Regions from separate parts of the Homo sapiens genome. Here all the other regions are linked to region 1. Evidence: promoter capture Hi-C in human tissues and cell types (Jung and others, 2019). All regions are on one chromosome and are shown on one strand. The core of a region is centred on a gene start or on the middle of the fragment in contact, and the rest is flanking DNA. Distances in the headings are between cores, read along the strand shown.

Region 1 (3,839 bases), core at 595-3,094:
TGAGACAAAGTTTTACTCTTGTTGCCCAGGCTTGAGCGCAATGGCGCTATCTCGGCGCACTGAAACCTCCACCTCCCGGGTTCACGCCATTCTCCTGTCTCAGCCTCCTGAGTAGCTGGGATTACAGGTGCCCGCTACCACGTCTGGCTAATTTTTTGTATTTTTAGTAGGGACAGGTTTTACCATGTTGGCCAGGCTAGTCTCAAACTCTTGACCTCAGGTGATCTGCCTGTGTCGGCCTCCCGAAGTGCTGGGATTAATAGGCGTGAGCCACCGCTCCTGGCCTTTATTTTTTATTTTTAACATTTTTAACTTTTTTGTTAAAACTCAGACACAGATACACTAGCCTAAGCCTACACAGGGTCAGGATGCTTAGTGTCACTATCTTCCACTACCACATCTTGTCCCGCTGGACGGTCTTCAGGGCAATAACACGCATGGAGCTGTCATCTCCTATGATAACAAAGCCTTTTGCTTGAATACCTCCTGAAGGACCTATCTAAGACTGTTTACGGTTAAATTTTATTTTCTTATAAGTAGGAGGAGTGTACACTGTAAAATAACAATAAAAGTGTAGGATAGTAAACACATAAACAAGTAACAGTCATTTATTACCATTATCAAGTATGATGTCCTGTACACAATTGTATGTGCTATATTTTATATGACTGGCAGCACTGTAGGTTTGCTTACACCAGCATCACCACACACGTGAGTCATGCATTTTGCTTTGACATTACGATAGCTATGTAACTAGGTGATAGAAATTTGTCAGCTCCATTATAACCTTAGGGCACCACCGTGGTATCTGTGGTCTTTCTTGACCAAAACGTTGTTATATGGTACATGACTGTATTTCAATCTCCATCTGTCCCCTCCCCACCCCTAAGTAACCCTAACCATGGAAGCCCAGGAGGAAGATCAGAGAGGGTCAACTGGAGAAATGACAGTTCATGCTGACCGGGTTGATAACATTTCCCAGAGAGGGAAAATGTGGTGAAGAGACAAAGGAAAGAAACTAACAAATACTGAATCTATACTGGACTGGACTCTGTACTTCATATTAGCCTCAGAATTACCAAAGGAGATGCACCGACGTATACTGATTTTACATATGCACTGATTAAAAGCGCAGGGAGGGTAGGTCTTGAGACTGGGAATCCAAATTAGGTTTGCCAAGTTATTTTCACAATACACGATACCTCCCATTGGGGAGCACATCCTCTCGGAAGCCTAAAGTTGGGTCAAAGAACAACGACATCCTAGAACGTCAGAGTGGAAGAGGCCTTAGAGATCACTCAACTCAACTTCTCATTTACAGATGGGGAAACTGAGGCCCAAACAGGGGAAATGACCAGCCCAGAATCCCAGTAAGTCGCCAACTCTCCAAGCCAAGAGCGGTCTGACCTAGTTGATGGCGACCCCGCGGGAGAGGGAATTACTCCGCGAAAGGTCGAGGGATCAAGGTGCTGGGGGAAGTCGGCTAAAGGGGGACGCGGGACCACGAAGCTGGGCAGGCCTTGGGTGGGTGGGGAAGAGCAGCCGGCAGAGTCGCGATGGCAAACCTGTCACGACAGAGCTCGCAGGTCCCGAAGTGGGGGTGAGGGTGGGGGTTGAGGATGGGAAGACCTGGGGCAGGGGAACAGCAGGCAGGAGACCGAGGTGGGGCCTCGGCGGCGGGCGAGGCCTCTTCCGCCCTGCGTTGCCTCCCGCCCTCCCTCCGGGCCGGCCCTCCCCGCCTGGCTGCCCGCCGCGCCCCGGGGCCTCACCTGCTCCTGCGGGGGCCGGAGCCGGGGCCGCAGCCAGCGAACCCCCGCCAGGGTTGTCAAGGAGCGAAACAAGAGTGTCTTAGCAACCAGCAAGGAAGTCCTGCCCCCTCACCGGACGTTGACGAGAATTTCACTTATTATTGGTGGATAAAAGTATCAATCAGAGTGAAAGGCCCTTATAAGTCAGGCGTTTGCAAGGACAGGGGCGTGGTTTAGAGGCCAGGGAGGCGGGACTTCACTTATAGTTGTCTTAAGCGTGCCCGAGGAGCAGGGGACACATTGAAGTTCTTTTTCTAGGGAAACAAACTTCGAAAAGCAGTACTGCCTTGGGAGGTTCTTTTAGTCACTTGAAATAACAAATGCAACTTGTTGGTGTCGTGACACTTAGCCACTACTTTATTGGGATCTGAAAAGCCTGATAATAACTAGCATTTTTGTAGGGCTGTACAATTAATATCTCACTTGATTCTCATTACAGTACTTTTAGGTGATAATATTCGTCATCCCATCTGAACTAAAGTTCAGAGAGGTTAAGTAACTTGGTAAAGGATGGAGGTAATCTCCCTGGAGAAGGAACCCAGGGGCTCCTTCCTCTGTGCCACACCCTTGTATGGTCACCTAGCTCTAGTCACTAGGAGACATTTGTACCACCTAATTTCAGACACAGTTGCCCAGAGCCTGCCTTTTCTTCCCCTTGGGAGGGAAAATTAATCCGAAAGTACGGAGAAGGAAAAGGGGAAAGGGGAAGAACTGGCGGATTCTATTATTTGATTGGTAGATCAAAGGGTCAGTTGGGTACTTCGTAGTTTAAACCTTTATTATTGTGATGAGTACTTGGGGTGAAACCCCACTGCCACATTTACTAGCATTGAAGCTGTCTTTGCCAAAATTATAACTGAGGAAATTATGACAGTGAAAGAGATCAGACCTAACCCACTCCATCTTGCCTTTCTAGCCTTTAAGCTGTCTTTGTTCATTCCTAGGCATAGGCTGAACGAACCTTGGGAAGGAATTTAGTTTATAGTTTTACTCTGAAACAAAATTGACAATAGCCCTTTCCCAAAAAGGCTCCCTTCCTGCCTTGGGACCAGTCTGCCTTTGTAGGACTAACAAATTAGCTACAACATTAGAAATTATGGTTTAGGGGTCACACAGCAGCCTCTGGCTGCAAGAGTCTGAACCTTCCCAAATTGCTCCTGGGGATAACATCACTATTGTAAAACCTAAGATCAGCGCTTGAGATATTTTGCAGACCCTGCGCTCGATGGATCAGCTGACACCACCCAGACCAGTAATGTGGCTCAAACAGTTCTGTGATCCCACCCAGGAACAGAAGACAGCAAGAAAACCTCACTTCGACCCCCTCAGTATTCCATCTTCGACTTAATCAATCAACACTCCTCGCTTGCCAAGCCCCTACCCACAAAATTATCTTTAAAACCTCTGATCCCTGAATGCTTGGGTAGCATATTCAACTGCCTCCTAGCCATGTGCACCAGAATGTTCCACAAGCCCTTCAAACTCAGTGTGTCCCAAACTGAATTGATCATCTCCCTCCAATCTGCTCTTCCTGCATTCCCCATTCCAGTAAATGGCACCACCCCCGACCCAGTTGCCTCCATCAGAAAACAGGGGGGAGTCCTTCACCCTTCCCACTACAACAGCCCACTTCCAGTCACAAGCATGCCAATTTCGACTCCTCACTATTTCCTGATACAGCCTTTCTGGCCACGTTCATGGCACCCTCCATGTGCACAACACCACAATCCCATCTACCTGAGTGCAATCTCCTGGTGGGACTCCCTGGCTGCAGTCTTGCACCTCTCTAATTTATCCTCTGTACCATAGTCAACATGACCCTGCCAAAACCCAAATCTCACCGCTGCATTCCTCTGTTTGAGTAATTTGAGTAATAATAAAACTCCCCTCTCCCGCACAGCTGGCTCTGTTTGAATTACCTTTCTCCATTGCAATCCCCCTGTCTTGATACATCGGCTCTGTCTAGGCAGTGGGCAAGGTGAACCCATTGGGCAGTTACAGCATCTACTGGGAGCTCAGCCCTCGTCAGGT
Region 2 (3,839 bases), core at 677-3,176, 250 kb after region 1:
ACGCCATTTATTCACTTGGGTGCAAGTGGGCTGAGTCTGAAAAGAGAGTCAGCGAAGGGAGATAAGAGAGGGGCAGCTTTATAGGACTTGGGTAGGTGGTGGAAAGTTACAGTCGAAGGTGGTCATCTGTTGTCAGCAGGGGAGGGGGTCACCAGGTGCATGGTGGGAGACCATGAGACCCATTGTCCAGAAGAAGAATGTCATAAGGTCGATTGATCAGTTAGGGTAGGGCAGGAACAAGTCCTAATGGTGGAATGTCTTAAGGTTGGTTAATCAGTTAAGGGAGAAACTGGCTGTTTCACTTCTTTTGTGTTTTTTTGGCTGCTCCAGACTTCTTGGCTGCTGCAGGCCATCTGGATGTATATGTGCAGTTCACAGGGGTCACAATGGCTTAGCTCCGGCTCAGAGGCCTGACACTGACCTCAGATGATCCACCTGCCTCGGCCTCCCAAAATGCTGGGATTACAGGCGTGAGCCACTGTGCCTGCCTGGGATCATATGTTACACGCATGTTTGTTCAATAAGCATGGAGTGCAGCCACCCACATGAATATTCATAGCTCCTCCTATAGCCTGTTGAATATGTATGTTTAGCCAACCCCTTCAGCATAAAGCTCCTGCCCCAACCCCTCCTGCTTCTAAATGTCTGTCTCTGGTGTTTCCCAGAGGCTGCTCTTCCCAGGCTGCGGGATGGCTACCTTGCTGCCTGTCACCCTTAACAAGAAATAAAATCTCCTTTCCAAATTTATACATTGTGGCCAGGCGCGGTGGCTCACACCTGTAATCCCGGCACTTTGGTACGCCAAGGCGGGCGGATCTCCTCAGATCGGGAGTTCGAGATCAGCTGACCAACATGGAGAAACCCTGTCTCTACTAAAAATACAAAAATTAGCCAGGCATAGTGGTGGGCGGCTGTAAGCCTGACCAACATGGAGAAACACTGTCTCTACTAAGAATACAAAAATTAGCCTAGGCGTAGGGGTGGGTGCCTGTAATCGCAGTTACATGGGAGGCTGAGGCAGGAGAATCTTTTGAACCTGGGAGGCAAAGGTTGCGGTGAGCTGAGATTACGCCACTGTACTCCAGCCTGGGTAACAGAGCAAGTCTCCGTCTCAAAACAAACAAACAAACAAAAAAACACAAAAAAACAAAAGCAAACAAAAAAACCAAATGCATCCCTTGTGTAATTTTTAGGTCACCGCGCCATGGGAACACGCTACCAGGGGAAGGGAGCTGTGAGACGCGCAGGGAGGCTCCAGACAGGCTGGCCTGGGACACCAGCCACTGCTCTTCCATGACATGGGGACAAGAGGAGGCGAGAGCTCAGCCCACCAGGGAGGAACTCCGGGCAGGAGATGGGGAAGAAGGAGAAGCAGGAAGGAAAGAGCTCAGTGTGGGGGCGCGCATGGCATCCCGGTGGGACATCTGAGGCCCACACCCACCTGCTGTCCCTCCCTCCCACGGTGGCCTCCGAGGGTGAAGGCCTGGGGAGAGGCAGACACCTGGCCCTTTACTCTCCCTCCCTGTCCCCATGGCCGCTGGGTGGGGGCCGTCTCTGGGATGATCCCCGAGGGCAGGATCCGGGAGTCCCTGCGGAGGCATCAGCCTGTCTGTCTTGATGGTGGAGAGGAGGCTCCAGCTGGGCGGGACCACCAGGGGAGGGGCTTGTGCTCTGCTGGCTCAGCCTGGTGTGGACCCACCTCGCGGGCGCTGGCTGCAATGACTTTCTCTTTCCCTTTGCAATTGCCTTGGGTCCTGCCGCACAGAGCGGCCTGTCTTTATCAGAGGTCCCTCTGCCAGGGGGAGGGCCCCAGAGAAAACCAGAAAGAGGGTGAGAGACTGAGGAAGATAAAGCGTCCCAGGGCCTCCTACACCAGCGCCTGAGCAGGAAGGGGGAGGGGCCATGACTACGAGGCCCTGGGAGGTCACTTTAGGGAGGGCTGTCCTGAAACCTGGAGCCTGGAGCAGAAAGTGAAACCCTGGTGCTCCAGACAAAGATCTTAGTCGGGACTAGCCGGCCAAGGATGAAGCCTCACTTCAGGTACCGCTGCCCGCTCTACCCGCTGGGCCCCTCTGCTGCCCCTTCCTGCCTGGTGGCTCTGCTGGGCGTCAGCCCTGGCCTCCCCCTGCCCCAGCCCCAGCCCTGGGCTCCCTCCCCTCTGGCTCCCCTGCCCCCGCCACTCCCAGCCAGGCTCTTTTTCCTGCTCTGTGGTTGCCCCACTGCTGCTTCTGAATAGGCCGCTTCCCCACCTGCCCCAGCCCAGGTGCCCTGCTGAGACTCTCCCCCGCCACCGAAAGTCATGGCAGGGCTGGTGCTCCCGGCCCTGGGAGGGTGCTCCCTCTGTGTTCTTTCCGCCATTCCTGAACTCTGGAACTGGGAGAATTGAACCAAAGGATGATTAGAGCAATGTGGAATTTTGTTCACAGTGCTTTGATGGATTTTCTGTAACATTTACTTTGCTTAAATAGCAAGTCTTAGGAGAGGGTGTGGGGAGGGAATGGTCTCTGAAGCACAAGATAAATCGTATCTTCCAAGGATGTCTCCACTGTGGGCAGAGGAGGATGCAGATGACCCCAAACACACGCTCCTCCTCCACTATCAGCATTCACTGTTTATAAATGACACGAGTAACATGGAATATAGTGGCCGGGTGCGGTGGCTCACACCTGTCATCCCAGCACTTTGGTAGGCTGAGGTGGGTGGATTGCCTGAGGTCGGGAGTTCGAGACCATCCTGATCAACATGGATAAACCCTGTCTCTACTAAAAATACAAAATTAGCCGGGTGTGGTGGCGGGCGCCTATAATCCAGCTACTCCACAGGCTGAGACAGGAGAATCGCTTGAACCCAGGAGGCGGAGGTTGCAGTGAGCCGAGATCGCCCCATCGCACTCCAGCCTGGGCAACAAGAGCCAAATTTCGTCTCAAAAGAAAAAAAAACAAAAACAAAAAACATGGAATATATGGGAAAAAAACTCAATGATCAGGAGAAATGCTATTATTTTAAAATTTAGTAAGAAGAGAGTCTGGTCCCCAATGGCTCCCTCCTGCAAGGCTGGTGACACAGAGACTGGACAGGGCTGGTCTGGTAAGAGGCCCCAGCCCCATCCGTCCCCAGCTCTGTGGCCTGGGCAGGTTACCCCATCTCTCTGCGCCTCTGGCACCTCCTCTGTAAGATGGGAATGGCCCGTGCGGGCCTAGGGCAGCCTCACATGAGCTCACATCCGCGCAGCACTTAGAAGAGTGGCCTGGGCCTCAGAATTCGGTTCTACCATGATTTAACAATAGTAATATACAGAGGTGAAATGTCAGAAGGAACTGGCTGAAAGGTTAAAATCTATTATTTTGGGGTGAATAGTTTTATTCTCTCTCTCTTTTTTTTTTTTTTTTTTGAGATGGAGTTTCGCTCTTGTAGCCCAGGCTGGAGTGCAGTGGCACGATCTCGGCTCACTACAACCTCCGCCTCCCAGGTTCAAGCGATTCTCCTGCCTCAGCCTCCACAGTGGCTGGGATTACAGGCACCCACTACCACGCTTGGCTAATTTTTATATTTTTAGTAGAGACTGGGTTTCACCATGTTGGTGAGACTGGTCTCAAACTCCTGACCTCAAGTGATGGGCCTACCTCGGCCTCCCAAAGTGCTGGGATTACAGGCATGAGCCATAATGTCCAGCCAAGAACTTTGTTCTCTTTTGCATTTTACTAATGCGTTGGAGAATGGGTGGGAGAAATACTGGGAAGGTGGGGAATGTACTCCTGGAACGACCAGAGCTGGACCCTGAGCTGGAAGAGGTCAGCCTGCCCCTGCTGCCCATGCCAGCATCCCCTTTTCTTGCTCTC
Region 3 (3,839 bases), core at 985-3,484, 220 kb after region 1:
CCTCCTATCTCAACTGCAAAGAGGCTTTCCTCCTTCACCAATCCTCCTCAGCACAGACCCTTTACGGGTGTCGGGCTGGGGGACGGTCAGGTCTTTCCCTTCCCATGAGGCCATATCTCAGGCTGTCTCAGTGGGGGGAAACCTGGACAATACCCAGGCTTTCTTGGGCAGAGGTCCCTGCGGCCTTCCGCAGTGCACTGTGTCTCTGGGTACTCGAGACTGGAGAATGGCGATGACTTTTACCAAGCTTATTGCCTGCAAACACATTTTTACCAAGGCACATCCTGCACAGCCCTAAATCCATTAAACCTTGAGTCAATATAGCACATGTTTCTGCGAGCACAGGGTTGGGGCTAGGGTTACAGATTCACAGCATCTCAAGGCAGAAGAGTTTTTCTTAGTACAGATCACAATGGAGTTTCTTATGTCTTCCTCTTTCTACATAGACACAATAACAGTCTCATCTCTCTTTCTTTCCCCCACAAGAACAAACTCCCCTTAAAGGAATCTATTTAGGAAGATTATTTCAAGGATACAATGTACATTCATTCCTCCAAAATATGCTTAGATGAACTTAAATAATCAGAAAGTTGTGTGTGTATGTGTTTCACATTTTCTTGGTCCACACGGAACCCCTTGAGAGGTCCCTGTGGGCCGTGAGCCTGTTTGTAGACACTTGCTTCCACCGCTTGATGTCGCAGACATCGCAGTCCCTGATGTAGGGTCTGGCCCTATGGGGCTTAGTGGGTGTTCTCCCCGTGTGTGGAGATGAGAAATCGTAAAAAGTAAAGACACAAGACAAAGAGATAAAGCGAAAACAGCTGGGCCCGGGGGACCACTACCATCAAGACACGGAGATGGGTAGTGGCCCCAAATGGTTGCGTGCACTGTTATTTATTGCATACAAGACAAGGGGGGCAGGGTAAGGAGGGTGAGTCGTCCAAGTGATTGATAAGGTCGAGCAAGTCACGTGATCATAGGACAGGGGGCCCTTCCCTTATAGGTAGCCGAAGCAGAGAGGGAAGGCAGTATACGTCAGCGTTTTCTTCTATGCACCTATCAGAAAGATCAAAGACTTTAAGACTTTCACTATTTCTTCTACCGCTATCTTCTGAGAACTTCAAAGAGGGACCAGGAGTACAGGAGGAAAGTGGACAAGGAGCGTGACCATTGAAGCACAGCATCACAGGGAGGGGTTTAGGCCTCCGGATGGCTGCAGGCAGGCCTGGATACTATCCAGCCTCCCACAAGAAGCTGGTGGAGCTGAGCGTTCCCTGACTCCTCCAAGAAAAGGGAGACTCCCTTTCGTGGTCCGCTAAGTAACGATGCCTTCCTAGGCACTGGCGTTACCGCCTGACCAAGGAGCCCTCCAGTAGCCCTTATGCGGGTGTGACAGAGGGCTCACCTCTTGCATTCTCGGTCACTTCTCACAACAGCCCTTCAGCACCTGACCCTATACCCACCGGTTATTTCTTGGTTATATTAGTAATACAATAAAGAGTAATATTAAAAGCTAATGATTAATAATATCTACACTAATGATTGATAATGTCCATGATCATCTCTGTATCTAATTTGTATTATAACTATTCTTATTGTAAGTATATTCTTTATTATACTGAAACAGTTTGTGCCTTCAGTCTCTTGCCTCAGCACCTAGGTAATCCTCCGCCCACATCTCTGAGGGGCTGAACTGCCCCCCACCTTCTGGAAGCTGGGAGGTTGGAAGAGGGGATGCGTGCGATGGACTCAGCACACAGCTGGGAACTCGAGGCACACCTAAGCCTTCGCTTGTGCTGTGCGGAGTCCACACTTCCTTCCCCACTGGGGTCTCAAAACCTCCCCTCACTCAACAGGGTGGTGCTGCTCAAAGCTCTGGGCACACATTAGGGCTGGGGAGGGGGTGGTGGAGAGGGGGCTCCAGCCTGCCCAACCACCAGGCAACGGGGCACCTGCCCCTCTCTCAGCTGGGTCTGGACCCGCGTCCCAGGCTCAGGCTGCAATGCCTTTCTCTTTCTCTTTCTCTTCTTTTTGCAGTTCCGTTGGGTCCTGCCCAGGACAGATAAAGACAGAGCAGCCTGTCTTTATCGGAGGTTCCTCTGCCAGTAGGAGGGGCCCGGAGAAAACCAGAAAGAGGGCCAGAGCCAGAGAAACATGAAGCACCCCGGGGCCTCCCACACCAGTGCCTGAGCAGGAATGGGGAGGGGCCATGATTCACAAGGCCCTGGGAGGTCACTTTAAAGAGGGCTGCTCAACTGCAAGGACGCTGTAAGCAGGAAGAGAAGCCACAGCGCTTCAGAAAAGAGTGGGACAGGGACAAGCATATCTAAGAGGCTGAACATGAATCCACAGATCAGGTACCTCTGCACGCTTTGTCCGCCAGGCCCCTCCTGCCACTTCCTGCCAGGCGGTCCTGCTGGGCCTCAGCCCTGGCCTCCCCCTGCCCCAGCCCCACCTCTGGGCTCCCTCCCCCCTGGTTCCCCCGCTGCCCCCACTCCCAGCCAAGCTCCTTGCCCTGCTGTGTGGTCCCACGACTGCTGCTTCTGAATGGGCCACCTTCCCCACTTGCCCCAGCCCAGTCCGCCTGCTGAGACTCTCCCCCGAAAATCATGCCCGGGCTGGTGCTTCCCGCCCTGGGAGGGTGCTTCCTCTGTGTGCTTCCCACTATTCCTGGGAGCTCTGGAACTGGGAGAATTGAACCAAAGGATGATTTGAGCAATCAGGCATTTTGTTCTCAGCGCTTTGGTGCAATTTCTGTAAGATTTACTTTGTTTCAATACAAAGTCTTAGGAGAGGGTGTGGGGGAGGGAATGGTCTCTGTACCAGAAAATAAGTCACTTCTTCCAAAGATGCCTCCACTGTGAGCAGAGTAGGATGCACACGACCCCAGACACAGGCTCCTCCTCTGTGAGCACCGTTCACCTTTCAGAATGACACCTGCAACATGGAGTGTAGGAAAAAATATGATGATCAGGAGAAATGCTCTTATTTTAGGCCAGGCACGGTGGCTTATGCCTGTAATCCTAGCACTTTGGGAGGCTGAGGCGGGCGGGTCACTTGTGGTCAGGAGTTTGAGACCAGCCTGACTAACATGGTGAAACCTCGTCTCTACTGAAAATACAGAAAATTAGCCAGGGGTGCTGGCGGGCGTCTGTAATCCCAGCTACTTGGGAGGCTGAGGCAGGAGAATCCCTTGAACCCGAGGGGTGGAGGTTGCAGTGAGCTGAGATTGCAAACTCCAGCCTGGGGGACAGAGCGAGATGCCGTCTTTAAAAAAAAAAAAAAAAAAGTAGCAGAAAAACTGGGAGGTTGAGGGTGTTCCATTGGTAGCCCCAGAGCTGGGGTTCCAGCTAGGAGAGGTCACCCCGGCCCTGCTGCCCCTGCCAGCGTCCCCTCCTCTTTCTCTCTCCCCGTCTTCCTGCCTGGGAAAGCAGCAGACATTCTCAGGGCTGTGGAGGGATGGGGGAGGCCCAGAGCCCAGGGACGTCCAGGCAGCTGTGTTCAGTGGGCATCAGCCCTGAGGACTCCGGTGCGGGGGTCTCTGCATTGGGGTTTCTCTCTTGTGCCTTCAGAAACCCGATGAAGGCAATGTATCCAGGCACATTCTACTTCCAATTTAAAAACCTATGGGAAGCCAACGATCGGAACGAAACTTGGCTGTGCTTCACCGTGGAAGGTATAAAGCGCCGCTCAGTTGTCTCCTGGAAGACGGGCGTCTTCCGAAACCAGGTAGCACCAAAGTCCTAGTTACACCCTAAATAGGAGCTAAGCAGCTGGGAATGCAGAAAACGCAACAATAAGTGATGTGCCCGGCGTGGGCTCTCCTGTGTGCACTTTCC
Region 4 (3,839 bases), core at 757-3,256, 220 kb before region 1:
CTATATATCTTTCAACATTTTAGTCATACCTCTTCATCTTGGAATCCTGGTTCTTCCGCCACAACTTGATCCTCCTTCATATTGAAAAGTGGGCAACAGAAAAATAATCACTTCTGGGAAAATAAGAAATATTATGTAAGAAGTAGTCCTTTGTCCAGGGGCCTCTGATTTCATTTCAAAGTCAACAAGGACTAGAAGGACAGTAAGAGAAGCATTTAGCTTGGAAAGATGAGGCCAGCCTATCTTCTTTCTGCGAGACATGTGACATTATTTCTTGTGTGTGTGTGTGTGTGTGTGCATGTGTGTGTGTGTCCCCACATGCACACAGATGCCTGAGGGGCAAATTGGGGGGTGCTTATTTAGTTTCTTCTCTTTCCCCAACAGTGATCACTTATCATCTGGTTTCCATTGCACAGCTAATCATGACTTTATTACTGCCTTGAATGTTATTTAGAATTGCATATTGCTTTTAACCTTTCTTGTTTATGTTTAACAACAATACTCTAGGAACCTTGACATTATATCATTCTTCCTTGTGTCCTCCCTGACACCTCCAACTTTGTCCTCAATAAATGGATTCTATTTTTCTCATCTATGATGAATGCCTTCCTGCCTGCTGATTATGAATGGGTACTCCTGTAACATCCACCTTTTTGTTTCATAGAACATTAGCTATACTTTCTTTCACAGTATTTACTAGTTTCATGATTTTTTTAAGATTTAAAAATATGGTGGTCCGGGTGTGGAGGCTCATGCCTGTAATCCCAGCACTTTGGGAGGCCGAGACAGGCAGATCACGAGGTCAGGAGTTCGAGACCAGCCTGGCCAATCCCCGTCTCTACTAAAAATACAAAAAAATTAGCCGGGCGTGGTGGTGGGCGCCCGTAATCCCACCTACTTGGGAGGCTGAGGCAGGAGAATCGCTTGAACCTGGGAGGCGGAGGTTGCACTGAGCCGAGATCATGCCACTGCACTCCAGCCTGGGCGACAGTGCGAGACTCAGTCTCAAAAAAAAAAAAAAAAATTGGTGGATCATAATATTATATTAAGGCTGATAAGCAGTTAAAGTTTTTAACATTGTAGACTCAAAAAGAAATCTCAGGAATCCACAAGGCGTGATTGTGTTTATTTATTACAATAAAATGCGGTCCAAATCATCATTTTTCTTGGTCGATTCCATTTCCTCATTTGATACCAAAGTCAGGGGTTGGACCCTAGAACAAAGGGAACGAACCATTAATACTAAGGCAGGAGCAGGGTCCTACCACCCAGCACCTCAAACGGCAAAGGATGGAAGGCAACCGAGACCGTTCGGATGGGATCTTCGGGGACACTGTCCTTCAGATGGCTAGCTATGAGTACCCCAATTCCACATTTACTGTCCCCATCGAAGAGAAAAACAGCATTCATTTCTTCTCCCCGTGATGAAATGAAAAGATTGTCCCCCATCTCTCAAGGAGCCGTTGATAGACTGAACCGTTGGATTGAAAGTAGGGCTCCCCAATCCCCCGGTTTAAGACGACCCAGCTGTCCCCTCTGGTGGGGGCAGCAGCGCGGTCGGGTCGCCCTCGACGCCTCCCTCAGCAGGAGGCCTGGGCAGACCCCCTGCGGCCGCCGGACATTTTCCTGACACCGGATTCCCTGGTCAGGAGGATGAGGCGGGCTCTCCTAGACTCAGGTCCGATTCGATTGAAAATGAGGTTGGAAATCCCTCAAGATCACTAAAATTCCTCCCCAAAGGTCGGAGCGGAACGCTCAAAGTCACTAGCCCAGGGACCCCAAAAAAGGAGCGAGAAAGGGAAGCGCGCCTTCTCAAAACGAGCGTCCCCTCAGAGTCTTCGCACGCTGTTCGTTTTTGCCACTTACCCCCCTCGTACCCACAGTCTCCCCGAGATTTTCAAGGTGAAGCCCCTCTGCCCCGCCCGACCTCCTCAGCTGACAGGATTCTAACTCGGGCCTAGAACACGGAGCCTGGAGACCCGCGCGCCGTTGACCACAGGGTTTGGCGCCAAACGAGGAGGGCGGGGCGAGGACCAAGGGGCCGGGGCGGGGCGCAGGGTGAGGGTGGAAGGGCGGGGAGGGAGCAGGCCTACAGAGGGCGACGAGGGGCGGGGAGCAATGGGGGCGGGGCGAAGACCGAAGGGCGGGGAACGAGCGGGCTCACAGGTGGGGGGACCAGAGGGCGTGGCCTGGAGGGGGCTCAGGGCGAGGGGGCGGGGCGAGGGCTGAGGCGCGGAAAACGAAGAGGAGCCCCAGCGGGTGGCGAGCTGGGATGACGGAGGGAGGGAGGGAGGGGCGCTGTGGAAGGAGCGCGCTGAGGAGCGGGGCCTTGAAGGGAGACCGTTGAGCTGGGGCGTCCCTCGAGCTGAGCACCTCGCTAAAGTCCGGGAGAAGACCCTGAGGCGGGGTTCTGAGGAGGTAGCCTTGAGTCGGGGGAGGGGCGATGAGCAGAGGTGGCTGACTTTGGCGATAGGTCTTGGTCGCGAGGGTTGCAGATGGAGCCTTGGCTTAGAAGGTCGAATCCGGGCCCGTTTCCCCCCGCCCCCGCTGCCCATGGCTTCTCTTTTCACCTCCAGGTTTTCATGCTGGCTTCAGAGTTTGGCCGTGCTCCCTCAGCGTTCCTAATTTCCCACTTTCTGACTCTCACCATTTGCCACTCTTGTCTGTGATTGAGACACCCGAGGCCCATTCAGGATGGAGAGTAATTTTTTCTCTGTCTTAACTTGAAGTTTTAAATAGACCACAGACGCCAAGTATATTTTGGTTCAGCTTTTAAATAGAAGTCGCAGGCCAGCCTTCGTGCCAGCAGCGCCATCGCTGGCAGCATCCTCCTCCTCCCCTCACGCGGAGACTGACTTGGGGAGAGTCAGGAAACATTTGAGAGAGCAGCTGCCGAGGTGGAGGCTGTGATGTATCTTGGATGAATCTCTGTGCAAACAGTTCTTTGGGTTCAAGACCTAGTACAGGGCGATCCTTTTTGTTTTTTCTGTCTGAATCATTTTGGTGGAATAAATAGCAAAACATTCCCACAATAGCAGTTGGCATTTTGTGTAGGACGCACCCCCCCAACAGGTGGATTGTTTTAAGAGCCAACAAATAACTGCCATTGTGCTTCCAAATCTGTTATTTTCCCCCAAACACAGTCGTCCTTGTTATATGGAGATGAATGCCCATTTGGGGGAGGAACTGGATAGTGGTGAAAGGCTTTCGCTCTGAGGCCTCACCTAAATAATTATGGGAACTTTTGAGCAACTCGTTAGGTGAAGACATCAACAGTCTACAGAAGAGCTGCAAAGAGCACAGCAAGATGATTTAGGGAAATATAACATATGTAGTTTGGTGTAGTGACAGCTGGGAGAGAGAAATGTTCATAATATTTGAAGGTTGTGTGCAGTACACTTAAAAAAACTAAAATGAGCTGGGTAATGACAAATTCATGAAGGGAGGAGAAAAATCTTATCTGGGTATCATATCGATGGTTAGAGACAACTTTTAAGATATTTAAAACAACAACAAACTCTAGGACAGTTAAAAAGTGCACATGAAGACTTTCCACTAAAATCGGAACCAAAAAAATTGTCTTTCGTATCATACAAAAACTCTGAATATCATGAAGGTGGCATTTCACATCAGTGGAGAAATGATGAATTCAGTGAATAGTGTTAGAACAACTAGGTAACCATCTGGAAGAAAAATAAAATTGGAACCACACTTTACACATTATACCAAAATAAATTCCAGACAGATCAAAAAATTAAATCTGAACAATAAAATAATAAAAGTACTAGAAGAAAATATGGGATATTTAAAATTACTTTGTAATAAGAAACATCTTTTTA
Region 5 (3,839 bases), core at 415-2,914, 200 kb after region 1:
GTGGTCATCACAAAGAGGAGGGCCTGAGGGAGGGAAGGCACCGTTCCTGGGGCTGAGAAGTGACCCCATCCCTGACTCTACACAAGGAAAAATGAGATGTGGCCTCGTGGACTAGGCTGGATTCGGGGCAGAAGGTCCTGGAGACCACCAGCAAAGAAAGCAAAAAGCTTTCCAGGCTCATCCCAGGTGGTCGGGGCCTCAGAGATGAACAAGTGCCTGCCAGGGCTGCAGGGCACCCGTCTGTGTCTTCCTTTCATCTCCCCTCTGACCTCTGGATGCCAGATGTCTCCAAAGGACTTCAACTTTTTTTTGTTTGTTTGTTTTTGTTTTTTGAGAGAGTCTCACTCTGTCACCCCCGCTGGAGTGCAATGGCACCATCTCAGCTCACTGCAACCTCTGCCTCCCGAGTTCGAGCGATTCTCCTGCCTCAGCCTCCTGAGTAGCTGGGATTACAGGTACGAACCACCATGCCCGGCTAATTTTTGTATTTTAGTAGATGGGGTTTCACCGTGTTGGCCAGGCAGGTCTCGAACTCCTGGCCTCAGGTGATCTGCCCGCCTCAGCCTCCCAAAGTGCTGGGATTACAAGTGTGAGCCACCGCGCCTGACCTGGACTTCAACTTTAACTATGAAAACCTACAGCTGGCCAAAGGGCGAGGGGAGACTTGCCTATCCTACCATGTAGAGTGATCAGATGGTGACACCCTGTCCTGCTGGACACCAGTGTCCTTCACAACCAGGTGTTAGCTGGGGATGGACACAGGAATCCCAGATTGGTAGGGAAAGGGGAGCCCCCCACAAGACCAGCTTTCTTCCTCCCATCAGGCTCAGACCAAACACATTGCACAACGCAGTTGCATGGAAGCCACAAAGATGGAAACCCAGGGCCTGGGGCCCTCTGGGAGGGACCTACACACGATCATAGCCCCCCCGACAATGCCTCGTGTGCCCAACACCAGCCCACCAGGTAGCTAGAGCCATTCCCTCTGGTCACTGGAGCAGAGCAGCCACCACAGCCTCCTGCAACACACCCTCCCATGCTGCGCCCACCCGCCTGGGCTCTCCCACCTCCCTTTGACCTACCTTGTTCCTGGGCACAGCCCCCTGTCCTGGCTGCAGATCTCAGGGTAACAGACCTCCACACAGCTGCTGATGCAGAAGTCCAGGCTGCAGTGCCCACAAGTGGATAGAGGAGGGGGTACGTGGGATGGAGGGGCTCACTATGGGTCCTCGTTGATTTCCCTACACTGTGATCTCCTGGAGGGAGGACCATGTGCCATCCATCCTTGCATCCCAGGTTCCTGCCTGAGCCGTGGCCCTGAGTGGGTGCTCTTGGGTTACTGTTGAAGGAATGAAGGAACTAGTATATGAATGAACCAGTTGTCCTTCCTTGCCTCCCCCCTTCCCTCCCTCCCTCCCTCCCTTCCTTCCCTCCCTTCATTGACCCTTCCTTCCCTCCCTCTCTCCCTCCCTCCTTCCCTTCCTTCCTTTCTTCCTTCCTTCCCTCCCTCCCTTCATTGACCCTTCCTTCCTTCCCTCCCTCCCTTCATTGACTCTTCCTTCCTTCCCTCCCTCTCTCCCTCCCACCTTCCCTCCCTCCCTCCCTCCTTCCTTCCTTCCCTCCCTATCTCCCTCCCTCCCTCCCTTCCTTCCTTCACCCTTCCCTCCTTCCCTCCCTATCAGGGGACCTGGTCCGATAATCATGTAGGTTCTTTTCTATTTTCTTAAGTGTCGGCTGGCTTGAGAAATAAAGGGACAGAGTACAAAAGAGAGAAATTTTAAAGCTGGGCTTCCGGGGGAGACATCACATGTTGGTAGGATCCGTGATGCCTCACAAGCCGCAAAAACCAGCAAGTTTTTATTAGGGATTTTCAAAAGGGGAGGGAGTGTGTGAATAGGTGTGGGTCACAGACATCAAGTACTTAACAGGGTAATAGAATATCACAAGGCAAGTGGAGGCAGGGCGAGATCACAGGACCTCAGGACTGAGGCAAAATTAAAATTGCTAATGAAGTTTCGGGCACCATTGTCATTGATAACATCTTATCAGGAGACAGGGTTTTAAGAGCAACCCGTCTGACCAAAATTTAGTAGGCGGGAATTTCCTCTTCCTAATAAGCCTGGGAGCGCTATGGGAGACTGGAGTCTATCTCACCTCTGTAATCTCGACCATAAGAGACAGGTACGCCCTGGGGGGGCCAGTTCAGAGACCTACCCCTAGGTGCGCATTCTCTTTCTCAGGGATGTTCCTTGCTGAGAAAAAGAATTCAGCGATATTTCTCCCATTTGCTTTTGAAAGAAGAGAAATATGGCTCTGTTCTGCCCGGCTCACCGGTGGTCAGAGTTTAAGGTTATCTCTCTTATTCCCTGAACAATTGCTGTTATCCTGTTCTTTTTTCAGGGTGCCCACATTTCATATTGCTCAAACACACATGCTGTACAATTTGTGCAGTTAATGCAATTATTACAGGGTCCTGAGGCGAAATACATCCTCCTCGGCTGACAGGATTAAGAGATTAAAGTAAAGACAGGCATAGGAAATCACAAGGGTATTGATTGGGGAAGTGATAAGTGTCCATGAAATCTTTACAATTTATGTTTAGAGATTGCAGTAAAGACAGGCATAAGAAATTACAAAAGTATTAATTTGGGGAACTAATAAATGTCCATAAAATCTTCACAATCCACGTTCTTCTGTCATGGCTTCAGCTGGTCCCTCCATTTGGGGTCCCTGACTTCCCACAACACCTCCCTCCCTTCCTTGACCCTTCCTTCCCTCCTTCCCTCCCTCCCTCCCTTCCTTTCTTCCTCCCTTCTTCCCTCCCTCCCTGCCTCCTTCCCTCCCTCCCTCCCTCCCTCCCTCCCTCCCTCTCAGGAGAGAGCAGCACACTGGAATGGCTGAGCTTGAGGACCCCCCATCTGGCTTGCACAGTCACCCAAACCACCACCCCTCCCCTTCCCTCCTCTTCTGCCTTGAGGAATCTGACTGTCTGGAAACTTGTTTCTCCTTCTCCATGAACATTCTAAAGCCACTGGCCATGCACTGGTGCTACCAGGTCACCTGGAGCATCTCCTGGAGCCCTTGTCCTTAATGTGCCCAGACAGTGAACAGCTTCCTGGCTGAGCATGTCAACGTCAACGAGAAGGCTTGAAGCCTGACCCCTCCACTGCCAACAGCCAGAAATTGCAGGAAATGAGGACCCTGCACCGGGCTGGTCAGCTGTCATGTGGGATGTCAGGGGGAGGCTTTGGGCTGAAGGGTGGTTGGGAGCCGGTGGGGAGAGTCCTTGGCTAGGACTGTAGGTGACACCAAGGACAAGACTCAGGACGTGGAAGACTCAGGACGTCCACATGGAAAGGATGCCAGGGCCAAGGCCGAGAGGTGCTGGGGAGGGCTCCCCACCTGCCCCACACACCATGGCCTCAGCCCCTGTGACGGAAGCTGACTATCTCCCCCTCACCGCAGTGTTTAGCCCTGCTGGGAAGACTGTTCAGACCACCAGGGAAAGCCCTATGAGACCTGGTCCTGCCTGGAGACGGATGGACGCCACCAGCCTGTCCTGGGTCACAGCTGTCCCCAGGGCTCTTCTCTCCCTCTGTACCTTGGCGGGCCCCATCCTCTCTCCATTTCCTCCATGATAGCCACTTTCCAGATTTCTAATGCAATACGTTAGTTTAGCTTTTTCTGCACTTGCTCTAAACACCAGCACATAGTACACAATCTTCTGTGTGTGGCTCTTGTCACTCAACCCTATGTTTGCAAGGTTCACCCATTCTGTTTATCACGGTTGCAGGTCAATTCCTATTGCTGTCCACTATCCCACCCGTGAATACCCGGCA
Region 6 (3,839 bases), core at 605-3,104, 180 kb after region 1:
CTGAGACAGGAGGAGAATTTGAGCCCAGAAGGTGGAGGTTGCAGTGAGCCATGATGGTACCACTGCACTCCAGCCTAGGTGACAGAGCGAGATGCTTTTCAAAAAGAAAATATACGTGTATGTGTGTGTGTGTTTGTGTGTGTCTGTGTGTTGTGTGGGAAGCCAGTCACAAGGATGTGAATATCAGGGGGTGTGTTTCACTGGGGATCGCCAACATGACAGTTTATCAGTCTTCCCTGTGTGCCAATGCATCTTACTCCACCCACTTGAAAATAACCCACCCATTCCCAACAGCCACAAAGTATCACCCCAATATGGAATCATGTTCAGACATCACATCCAAGATCCTGTCATCTAAATCAATCCCAGGTATAGACAGGGCACCTTCAGTTTGTTTTGTGGGGGTGAGTTGCCTCAGGTTCAGAGATCTGTGCTCTAAAACACAAGTGATCTCCAGCTGGGCTCGGTGGCTCAGGCCTGTAATCTCAGCACTTTGGGAGGGTGAGGCAGGTGGATTATCTGAGGTCAGGAGTTCAAGACCAGCCTGGCCAACATAGTGAAACCCTGTCTCTACTAAAAAATACAAAAATTACCTGGGTGTGGTGGCGGGTGTCTATAATCCTAGCTACTCGGAAGGCTGAGGCAGGAGAATCGCTTGAACCCGGGAGGTGGAGGTTGCAGTGAGCCGAGATTGCGCCATTGCACTCCAGCTTGGGCAACATGAGAGAAACTCCATCTCAAAAAAAAAAAAAAAAAAAAAGGGAATCGCTAGATGGGGCTGAATATCCAGGGGGCCTTCATCACATGCCTGGAGGCTTGGGCAGGCTGTCAGCTGGGGTGTTTCCTCTCTCCACCTGGTCTCGCAGCATTTAGGACTACAAGTCTGTTTTCCTTGCATGTAGGTGAGCAAGTCCTAGATATGCAAAAAATGAAACCTACAAGGCTACTCAAAGCCCAGCCAAGGAAATCACATGACATCATTTCTACTGCATTTTATTGGCCAATGCAAGTCACAGACCAGCCCAGATGGAAGGGGACAAAAAAATAGACTGCATCCCTTGATGAGAAGAGTGTCAAAATCTCATGGCAAAGGGTTGTAAAAACAGACCGGAGGAAGCGTGAGGCGTACACTGCACCCCCACCACACCAGCCCAAGCCCTTAGAGAAAAATGATGAAAAATCCACCTTTGGCCAGCCACGGTGGCTCATACCTGTAATCCCAGCACTTTGGGAGGCTGAGGCAGGCAGATGGCTTGATTCCAGGAGTTTGAGACCAGCCTGGACAACATGGTGAGACCACCTCTACAAAAAATACAAAAAAATTAGCCAGGTGTGGTGGCGTGAGCCTGTAGTCTCAGTTATGTGGGAAGCTGAGGAGAGAAGATGCCTTGAGCTCCGGAGGTTGAGGCTGCAGTGAGCGGTGATCGTGCCACTGCACTCCAGCTTGGGCAACAGAGTGAGATTTTGTCTCAAAAAAAAAAAAAGTCGACATTTGTTAGAGTCACCCAAGCAAGGGAAGATCAGACGAATAAGGTCTCAAGTGAACATTTTCTACGTGAGCATATCCAACCCGGGGCCTCTGCAGGGCCTGTTTTCTCTAGGAGCAAGGACTATTAGCAGGCAGGGGATGGGCCTGGGGGGCCTGGGAAAGGGAGAACAGGTGGAGGCTCCATACAGGGGGACGCTGGGGCCAAGCTCAAGGTAGGGCACACCCCTCCATATCGAAGTAGGTCATCAAGAGTCATGCAGACGGGACAAGGCAAGGAGTTCCGGTGCAAGCTCGCTAGGACCCTCAGTAACACCAGAATAGAACCTGGACCCAGGATCCAGGGCAGAGAGAACCTTTTTACCAAAGCCTGCTGTCACCACCCAGGCTGCTTTGCCTTGACAGTCCCACTCCTCAACTGTAGGAAGGTGAGAAAAATTCAACTTCTCAAGTGTGCTGTTCAGGTCACACCCTCTAGAGGGCGAGCATGCAGCAGAGGCATGCGGCATAAACCTTTGTCCCTTTCCTCGGCAGGGTCCCGTGAAAGTCAGGTTGCAGGACCCCCAGGCCACACTGGAGGAGACCCTGAAGCTCCACTTTGTCACCCAGGAGTCCGTGCCTTGCAGAGCCTGGGCCAGGTGCTGAGAAACACAGGGATGGGGCTGGGCTGCACCTGCCCTTGCTTGTTTTTTTTGTTTTTTGTTTTTTGGTTTTTGGTTTGGTTTGGTTTTTTTGAGACAGAGTCTTGCTCTGCCACTCAGACTAGAGTGCAGTGGCACCAACTCAGCTCACTGCAACCTCTACCTCCCGGGTTCAAATGATTCTCTTGTCTCATCCTCCTGAGTAGCTGGGATTACAGGTGCACGCCACCACACCCAGCTAATTTTTTATATTTTTGGTAGAGATGGGGTTTCACCTTGTTGGCCAGGCTGGTCTCAAACTTCTGACCTTAAGTGATCTGCCCACCTTGGCCTCCCAAAGTGCTGGGATTACAAGTGTGAGCCGCCGCGCCCGGCCTGCCCTTGCTTTTTGGGTTTTGTCTTTGCCACCCAGAGTGGCGTCACCTGGATAACATGCCCTAAGACTGCAGGGATGTAGGTGAGTCTGTCCCAGTCCAGGAAACCAAGGCTAGTATCAGATTGGCTTTCATGGCTTCTGGGCAGAGCCCAGATCTGCACCTCACGTGTCCCGGAGTCAGGGAAGGGTGATACTGGCTTCCCCAGTTCTGCCCTCTGGACGGGCGCTCCGTTGACAGAGACCCTGAAGAGCATCATGCCAGGTGTGGCCTCAAATAGTAAAGATAAGAGAAACAGAACTCGAGGAGGAGAAATATAGAGGCCAGGCCAAGGCCGTGCACAGCCCCCTACAGCATCTGGCACTGTGGTCGCTTCTTTACTCTGCCTCCCTCCTCTGGAGCTCCCGTGAATGTGAGCGTCCTCCTCCTGGCTGGACGGCATCTCCTCTCTCTGGGCCTTCTGCCCTGGCCCCATCCTCCCTCGGACTGGGTGCCGAGTCTCAATGTTGGTCACTTATGACCCCAAATCGCCTTCTCCAGCTGGACACCCCCAGTCTCCTGGGCTGGACTCTGCAGTCACCTTTAGTGCTCCCAGCTCCCCTGTTCCTAAGCCCTGCTGTTTCTACCTTTGGGAGGACACGCAGGCTGTCAGCCCATGTTTGCCGAGTGCTACGGTGCTTGAGTGTGCATAGCCCTAAACAGGGAGCTGGCACTGGGTGTTATGACTCCCCTTGCTGTAAACTTTAAGGACTCAAACAGAAGCAGAAAAAAGTGAAAATAAGCAACATCTACTGAGTACTGACCACCCACCAGGCTCCGTTCCTTATGCCTGAAGGGGAGCGGCTCATTTAAACCTTACACCTGAATGGGAGCGCTCATTGAACCCTTGCGCCCAACCCCACAGTGAGGAGCCATCATTTTCACCTTCCCTGTTCAGATGAGGAAATGGACTATTGCAGTTAGAGGTTGCAAAGCCAAGCTGGGGTTGACCCAGCCAGGTAGGTCTCTACCCAGGTGCTCAAACGCAGCTGGGGCAATTGAAACAAGTCTTGAAATCAGTTACAGAGATTCTTTCTTTTTTGTATTTTACCATTTACCTAACTTTACATGCAACTTCCTTAGTTCAGATACAATGTTTCATTAAAAAAAAAAAAATCTGGGCTGGACATGGTGGCTCACGCCTGTAATCCCAGCTCTTTGGGAGGCTAAGGCAGGCAGATCACTTGAGATCAGGAATTCGAGACCAGCCTGGCCAACATGGTGAAACCCTGTCTCTACTAAAAAAAATACAAAAATTAGTCAAGCATGGTGGCACATGCCTATAATCCCAGCTACTCT
Region 7 (3,839 bases), core at 1,000-3,499, 150 kb after region 1:
CACAGACTATGGCAGGCCGCGGAGTCAGGAATTGTGTCTGTTTTTGTTTGAGTCTGTATCCAGCTCCTAGAATAGCACCTGTCACATAGTAGCTGCTCAGTAAAAACAATGTTGCATGAATGAATATAGACACCAAAGGAGGCAGGGTTTTAGAGGTGGAGTGAAGGTGAGTGTGATCTTTTCTGCTTTTTGGTGCTCAGTGACGGCTGAGGTAGGGTCATGGGCTGAGGACTGGGAGGGGATTGGCTGGGAACGGGTGACTGCGGGAGCAGCTGTGCAGGAGAGGAGCTGTGCTCACTGTGCCACGGGAATGCCAGGAGGATTCATTTCTCATCCACTGGACAACACCAGCTGAATCGAGGCCCATCTTTCCACCCCTGAATTGCAGCTCCACCTTGGTCATATACCAGCTTCCCAAATATCCTTGATTCTGTTTGTGTGTGGCATTTTCCTCATCTCTATTTCTGCTCCTGGTGCATATACTACTCTTTTGATTACGGTAGCTTTATAGCATTCCTAGTTTCTTTTTTTTTTAGACGGAGTCTCACTCTGTTGCCCAGGCTGGAGTGCAGTAGCGCAATCTCGGCTCACTGAAACCTCCGCCTCCCAGGGTCAAGCAATTCTCTCGCCTTAGCCTCCCTAGTAGCTGGGATTACAGGTGCACACCAGCATGCCCGGCTAATTTTTGTATTTTTAGTAGAGACAGGGTTTCACCATGTTGGCCAGGCTGGTCTCAAACTCCTGACCTCAGGTGATTCCCCCGCCTCGGCCTCTCAAAGTGCTGAGATTACAAGCGTGAACCACCATGCCAAGTCAGCTTCCCTAGTTTCTGATATATTGTAAGTACCCCCTCATTTCCTTCAATCACAATTATTCTGTCACTTGGACTTAAATAACCCGTTTACTATTTTAAAAAAAGAAAGAAAGCTAAGAGCAGTCATGGTGATTCTATTTGCATTTGTGTTGTATTTCTGTCTATCAGTGTATTTGGGATATTTTATGTCCGTTAGTAAAACTGTTCCCTTCTTTCAAAATACAGGCTTTGAAACTTTGTTTTCTTTCAAAAATGTTTGTATTGGAGTATAACTTAGAGTTAATTGCAAAAGCTTAGGTTTGCAGTTGATGTAACCACCGGCCAGATGGGGTGGAGGCTTTCTCCAGAATCTCAGGTGGCTCATGCATGTCATTCGATTTGTTCCCCCTCCACTGGAAACTGGTGTTCTGACTTCTATTATCATAGATTAATTTTGCCTGTTTTTGAACTTCATAGAAATTACACAGTATGAATTCTTTTATGTGTGACTTCTTTTGTTCAATATTACTTTTGTGGGGTTCACTGATGCTTTATATGCCAGGAGTTCATTCATTTTTATTGCTGTGTAGTATTCCATTGATGGAGAGAGTACAATATATTTACCATGTATAACATATTCACAATATATTTTAATATATATTTTAAATTATAATATATTAAAATTACATTGTATATAATTTATATATTAAAATAATTTTATATATTATAATATATTTTAATATATGCCATTGTTGCTGGACAGACCGAGTTATTTCGAGTTTTTGGCTGTCATGAATAAAGCGAAATGAACGTTCTTTTTTTTTTTTTTTTTGAGAGTCTCGTTCTGTTGCCCAGGCTGGAGTGCAGTGGCACCATCTCTGCTCATTGCAACCTCCACCTCCTGGGTTCAAGGGATTCTCCTGACTCAGCCTCCCGAGTAGCTGGAATTACAGGTGCATGCCAACACGCCTGGCTAATTTTTGTACTTCTTTTTAGCAGAGATGGAGTTTTGCCATGTTGGCCAGGCTGGTCTCAAACTCCTGACCTCTGGTGATCTGCCTCCCTCAGCATTCCAAAGCGCTGGGATTACAGGCGTGAGCCACCGCGCCCAGACTGTGAACGTTCTTATGCAGCCTTTTGGTGGACATAGCATCTATTTCAGTTGGATATTATAATACCTAGGAGTGGCATTGCTAAGTCATGGAGTAGATGCTTGTTTCGCTTTAGTAGCTGCAACTAAACATTCTATGCTGCCCCTTTTATGCTACCATCAGCAATGTAAAAGAGTTCCATCCTTGACAATATTTGATGTTGTCAGTCTTTTGGATTTTAGCCATCCTGGTGGGGAGGGGCTAGTGGTATCTCACTGTGGTTTTACTTTACATTTCTCTGATGATTAATGAGGTTGACCACATTTTCATGGGTTCACAGGCCATTTTGATATCCACTTTTGTAAGCTGCTCCTTCAAGATTTTGGCCCATTTTATAATGGGCTCTTTTTCTTACTGATTTTCTGGAGCTCCTTATATATTTGGGAGATAAACTCTTTGTTAGGTAGATATAGTGCAGACATCTTTTCCGAGTCTATGATAGGCCTTTTCACTCCCTTACTCCCTTAATGGTGCTTTCTGATGAAAGTCTGTGCTTTTCTTACTAATTCCTGGTTATAGTATCGTTTTATTTCACATTGTGGATGAGGTTAAAAGTTGTTGATATAACACACACTAGTTAAGACAACATCCTGGAGAAGGGAACACGGCGCAGAGGATTTTCTCCTCTAGGCTGCTTCCGGTTTTCGGAGTCAGTCATACTGACCCTCTGGTTTTAGTTCCTTGGGTGGTTTCCTCGGGGAACCACTATTTCTTGATTTACTAGCTCTTGATGGTATCTACTGCCTTCCCTCCGCGAATATGAGAGTTTCGCTCTTATAATTCTCCAGAACTTCCCCTCCCCTCCTCTCCCCTCCTCATGTAGTTGCATCAGTGCCCTCAGGTCCCCCGTGGGCAAACGCCCACAGCTTCAAGTGCTTGCTGAAACTCAACAAGAAGCAGAATCACTTGACTCAACCTTGTGAATCAGCCGCTGACACTTCCCTCACTCCTCTTCCAGCCTCCCTCCTCATTCCATCTTGACCTCTTTCACTTTCGCCTTCACATTATTAAGGTTGAGAATGTTTATATTAATTTTGTGAACATATCTCAGCCTCCCATGTCCTGTCTATAGATTGAATCTAAATGTTGAAAACCCAGTCTTTGGGGTTTACATCACCGTACTTATAGGAACGTGCATCTCACCAACCTCGGTCATGATGACTTACCTCTCCCGAATCTTCCTGTCTTAATGCCGTTCCAAAAAACATCTTCTTCATGTGGCAGCCAAATGGTTCCACCTTTTTGATTTTCCACCGATGATGCTTACAATCGTGCCATGATCTTGTTGGCCTCCTCCTTGGACCATGGCTGTAGAGTGTGGAAAGGTGTTAACTCTTCAACCTTTTCTGTCTGTCCAGTGTAGAAAAGGGTTAACCTTTCCACTCTGTGAGCCGCCCCCCATGTTTCCTTTTTTTTGAGATGGAGTCTCACTTTTGTCACCCAGGCTGGAGTGCAGTGCCACGATCTCAGCTCACTACAACCTTCGCCTCCTGGGTTCAAGTGATTCTCCTGCCTCAGCCTCCCAAGTAGCTGGGATTACAGGTGCCTGCCACCACACCTGGCTAATTTTTGTATTTTTAGTAGAGACGGGCTTTTGCCATGTTGGCCAGGCTGGTCTTGAACTCTTGACCTCAGGTGATCCACCTGCCTTGGCCTCCCAAAGTGCTGGGATTACAGGTGTGAGCCAGCGCACCCAGCTTCCCCCACGTTTCTAGGTAGCCATGGTTAGTTTCTTTTGCTTGCAACCAAAGATCTCTAATAGGTAAAGAAGGTGATCCAAGATTCCAGGAAACAGGAAACAGAAGGAACGTGCTGTGGGGAGATGAAACAGAAGCTCCGGGTGAGACCAGGGCAGCACTGACCACTCCACAGCACCTGGCTGTGTAGCTGCTCTG

The links. The method cuts DNA at HindIII sites, captures the fragments that hold promoters and counts their contacts. A contact is called where the count stands out against the background at its distance.
Region 2: the fragment with the promoter of APOBEC3F here is called in contact with the fragment with the promoter of DNAL4 in region 1 in 4 of the 25 tissues and cell types used here (IMR-90 fibroblasts, aorta, mesenchymal stem cells and 1 more).
Region 3: a contact is called between the fragment with the promoter of APOBEC3C here and the fragment with the promoter of DNAL4 in region 1, in 2 of the 25 tissues and cell types used here (mesenchymal stem cells and spleen).
Region 4: the fragment with the promoter of DMC1 here is called in contact with the fragment with the promoter of DNAL4 in region 1 in 1 of the 25 tissues and cell types used here (bladder).
Region 5: a fragment that was not itself captured here is called in contact with the fragment with the promoter of DNAL4 in region 1 in 4 of the 25 tissues and cell types used here (IMR-90 fibroblasts, heart left ventricle, lymphoblastoid cells and 1 more).
Region 6: a contact is called between a fragment that was not itself captured here and the fragment with the promoter of DNAL4 in region 1, in 3 of the 25 tissues and cell types used here (lymphoblastoid cells, small bowel and spleen).
Region 7: a contact is called between a fragment that was not itself captured here and the fragment with the promoter of DNAL4 in region 1, in 2 of the 25 tissues and cell types used here (lymphoblastoid cells and thymus).

The regions. Positions count from the first base shown.
Region 1 is chr22:38,792,299-38,796,137 of GRCh38, forward strand. It overlaps DNAL4 (dynein axonemal light chain 4), which reads right to left and starts at 1,845. Exons shown (of 4, transcript NM_005740.3): 1 at 1,770-1,845. RefSeq lists a silencer at 1,587-2,036. The HindIII fragment of the contact is 13,707 bases long and covers 1-3,839 here.
Region 2 is chr22:39,038,938-39,042,776 of GRCh38, forward strand. APOBEC3F (apolipoprotein B mRNA editing enzyme catalytic subunit 3F) reads left to right here and starts at 1,927. Exons shown (of 7, transcript NM_145298.6): 1 at 1,927-2,040. The coding sequence starts at 2,024. RefSeq lists enhancers at 1,737-1,796, 2,849-3,626. The HindIII fragment of the contact is 19,854 bases long and covers 1-3,839 here.
Region 3 is chr22:39,012,023-39,015,861 of GRCh38, forward strand. It overlaps APOBEC3C (apolipoprotein B mRNA editing enzyme catalytic subunit 3C), which reads left to right and starts at 2,235. Exons shown (of 4, transcript NM_014508.3): 1 at 2,235-2,357; 2 at 3,573-3,729. The coding sequence starts at 2,341. RefSeq lists enhancers at 1,447-2,065, 2,042-2,336, 2,066-2,683, 2,256-2,365 and a silencer at 2,476-2,525. The HindIII fragment of the contact is 14,453 bases long and covers 1-3,839 here.
Region 4 is chr22:38,568,177-38,572,015 of GRCh38, forward strand. DMC1 (DNA meiotic recombinase 1) reads right to left here and starts at 2,007. Exons shown (of 14, transcript NM_007068.4): 1 at 1,867-2,007; 2 at 30-113. The coding sequence starts at 80. It overlaps LOC105373031 (a long non-coding RNA gene), which reads left to right and starts at 2,324. Exons shown (of 2, transcript NR_134627.1): 1 at 2,324-2,418; 2 at 2,577-3,182. RefSeq lists a silencer at 2,003-2,292 and enhancers at 2,596-3,106, 2,693-2,742. The HindIII fragment of the contact is 22,042 bases long and covers 1-3,839 here.
Region 5 is chr22:38,996,399-39,000,237 of GRCh38, forward strand. APOBEC3B-AS1 (APOBEC3B antisense RNA 1) reads right to left here and starts at 1,822. Exons shown (of 5, transcript NR_104187.1): 1 at 1,688-1,822; 2 at 1,083-1,339. RefSeq lists an enhancer at 1,687-2,327. The HindIII fragment of the contact is 5,994 bases long and covers 1-3,839 here.
Region 6 is chr22:38,971,797-38,975,635 of GRCh38, forward strand. No RefSeq gene overlaps it. Among named protein-coding and RNA genes, the nearest start is that of APOBEC3B, 8.6 kb to the right of the region's middle. RefSeq lists an enhancer at 2,378-3,155. The HindIII fragment of the contact is 5,438 bases long and covers 1-3,839 here.
Region 7 is chr22:38,939,028-38,942,866 of GRCh38, forward strand. No RefSeq gene overlaps it. Among named protein-coding and RNA genes, the nearest start is that of APOBEC3A, 17 kb to the right of the region's middle. The HindIII fragment of the contact is 9,821 bases long and covers 1-3,839 here.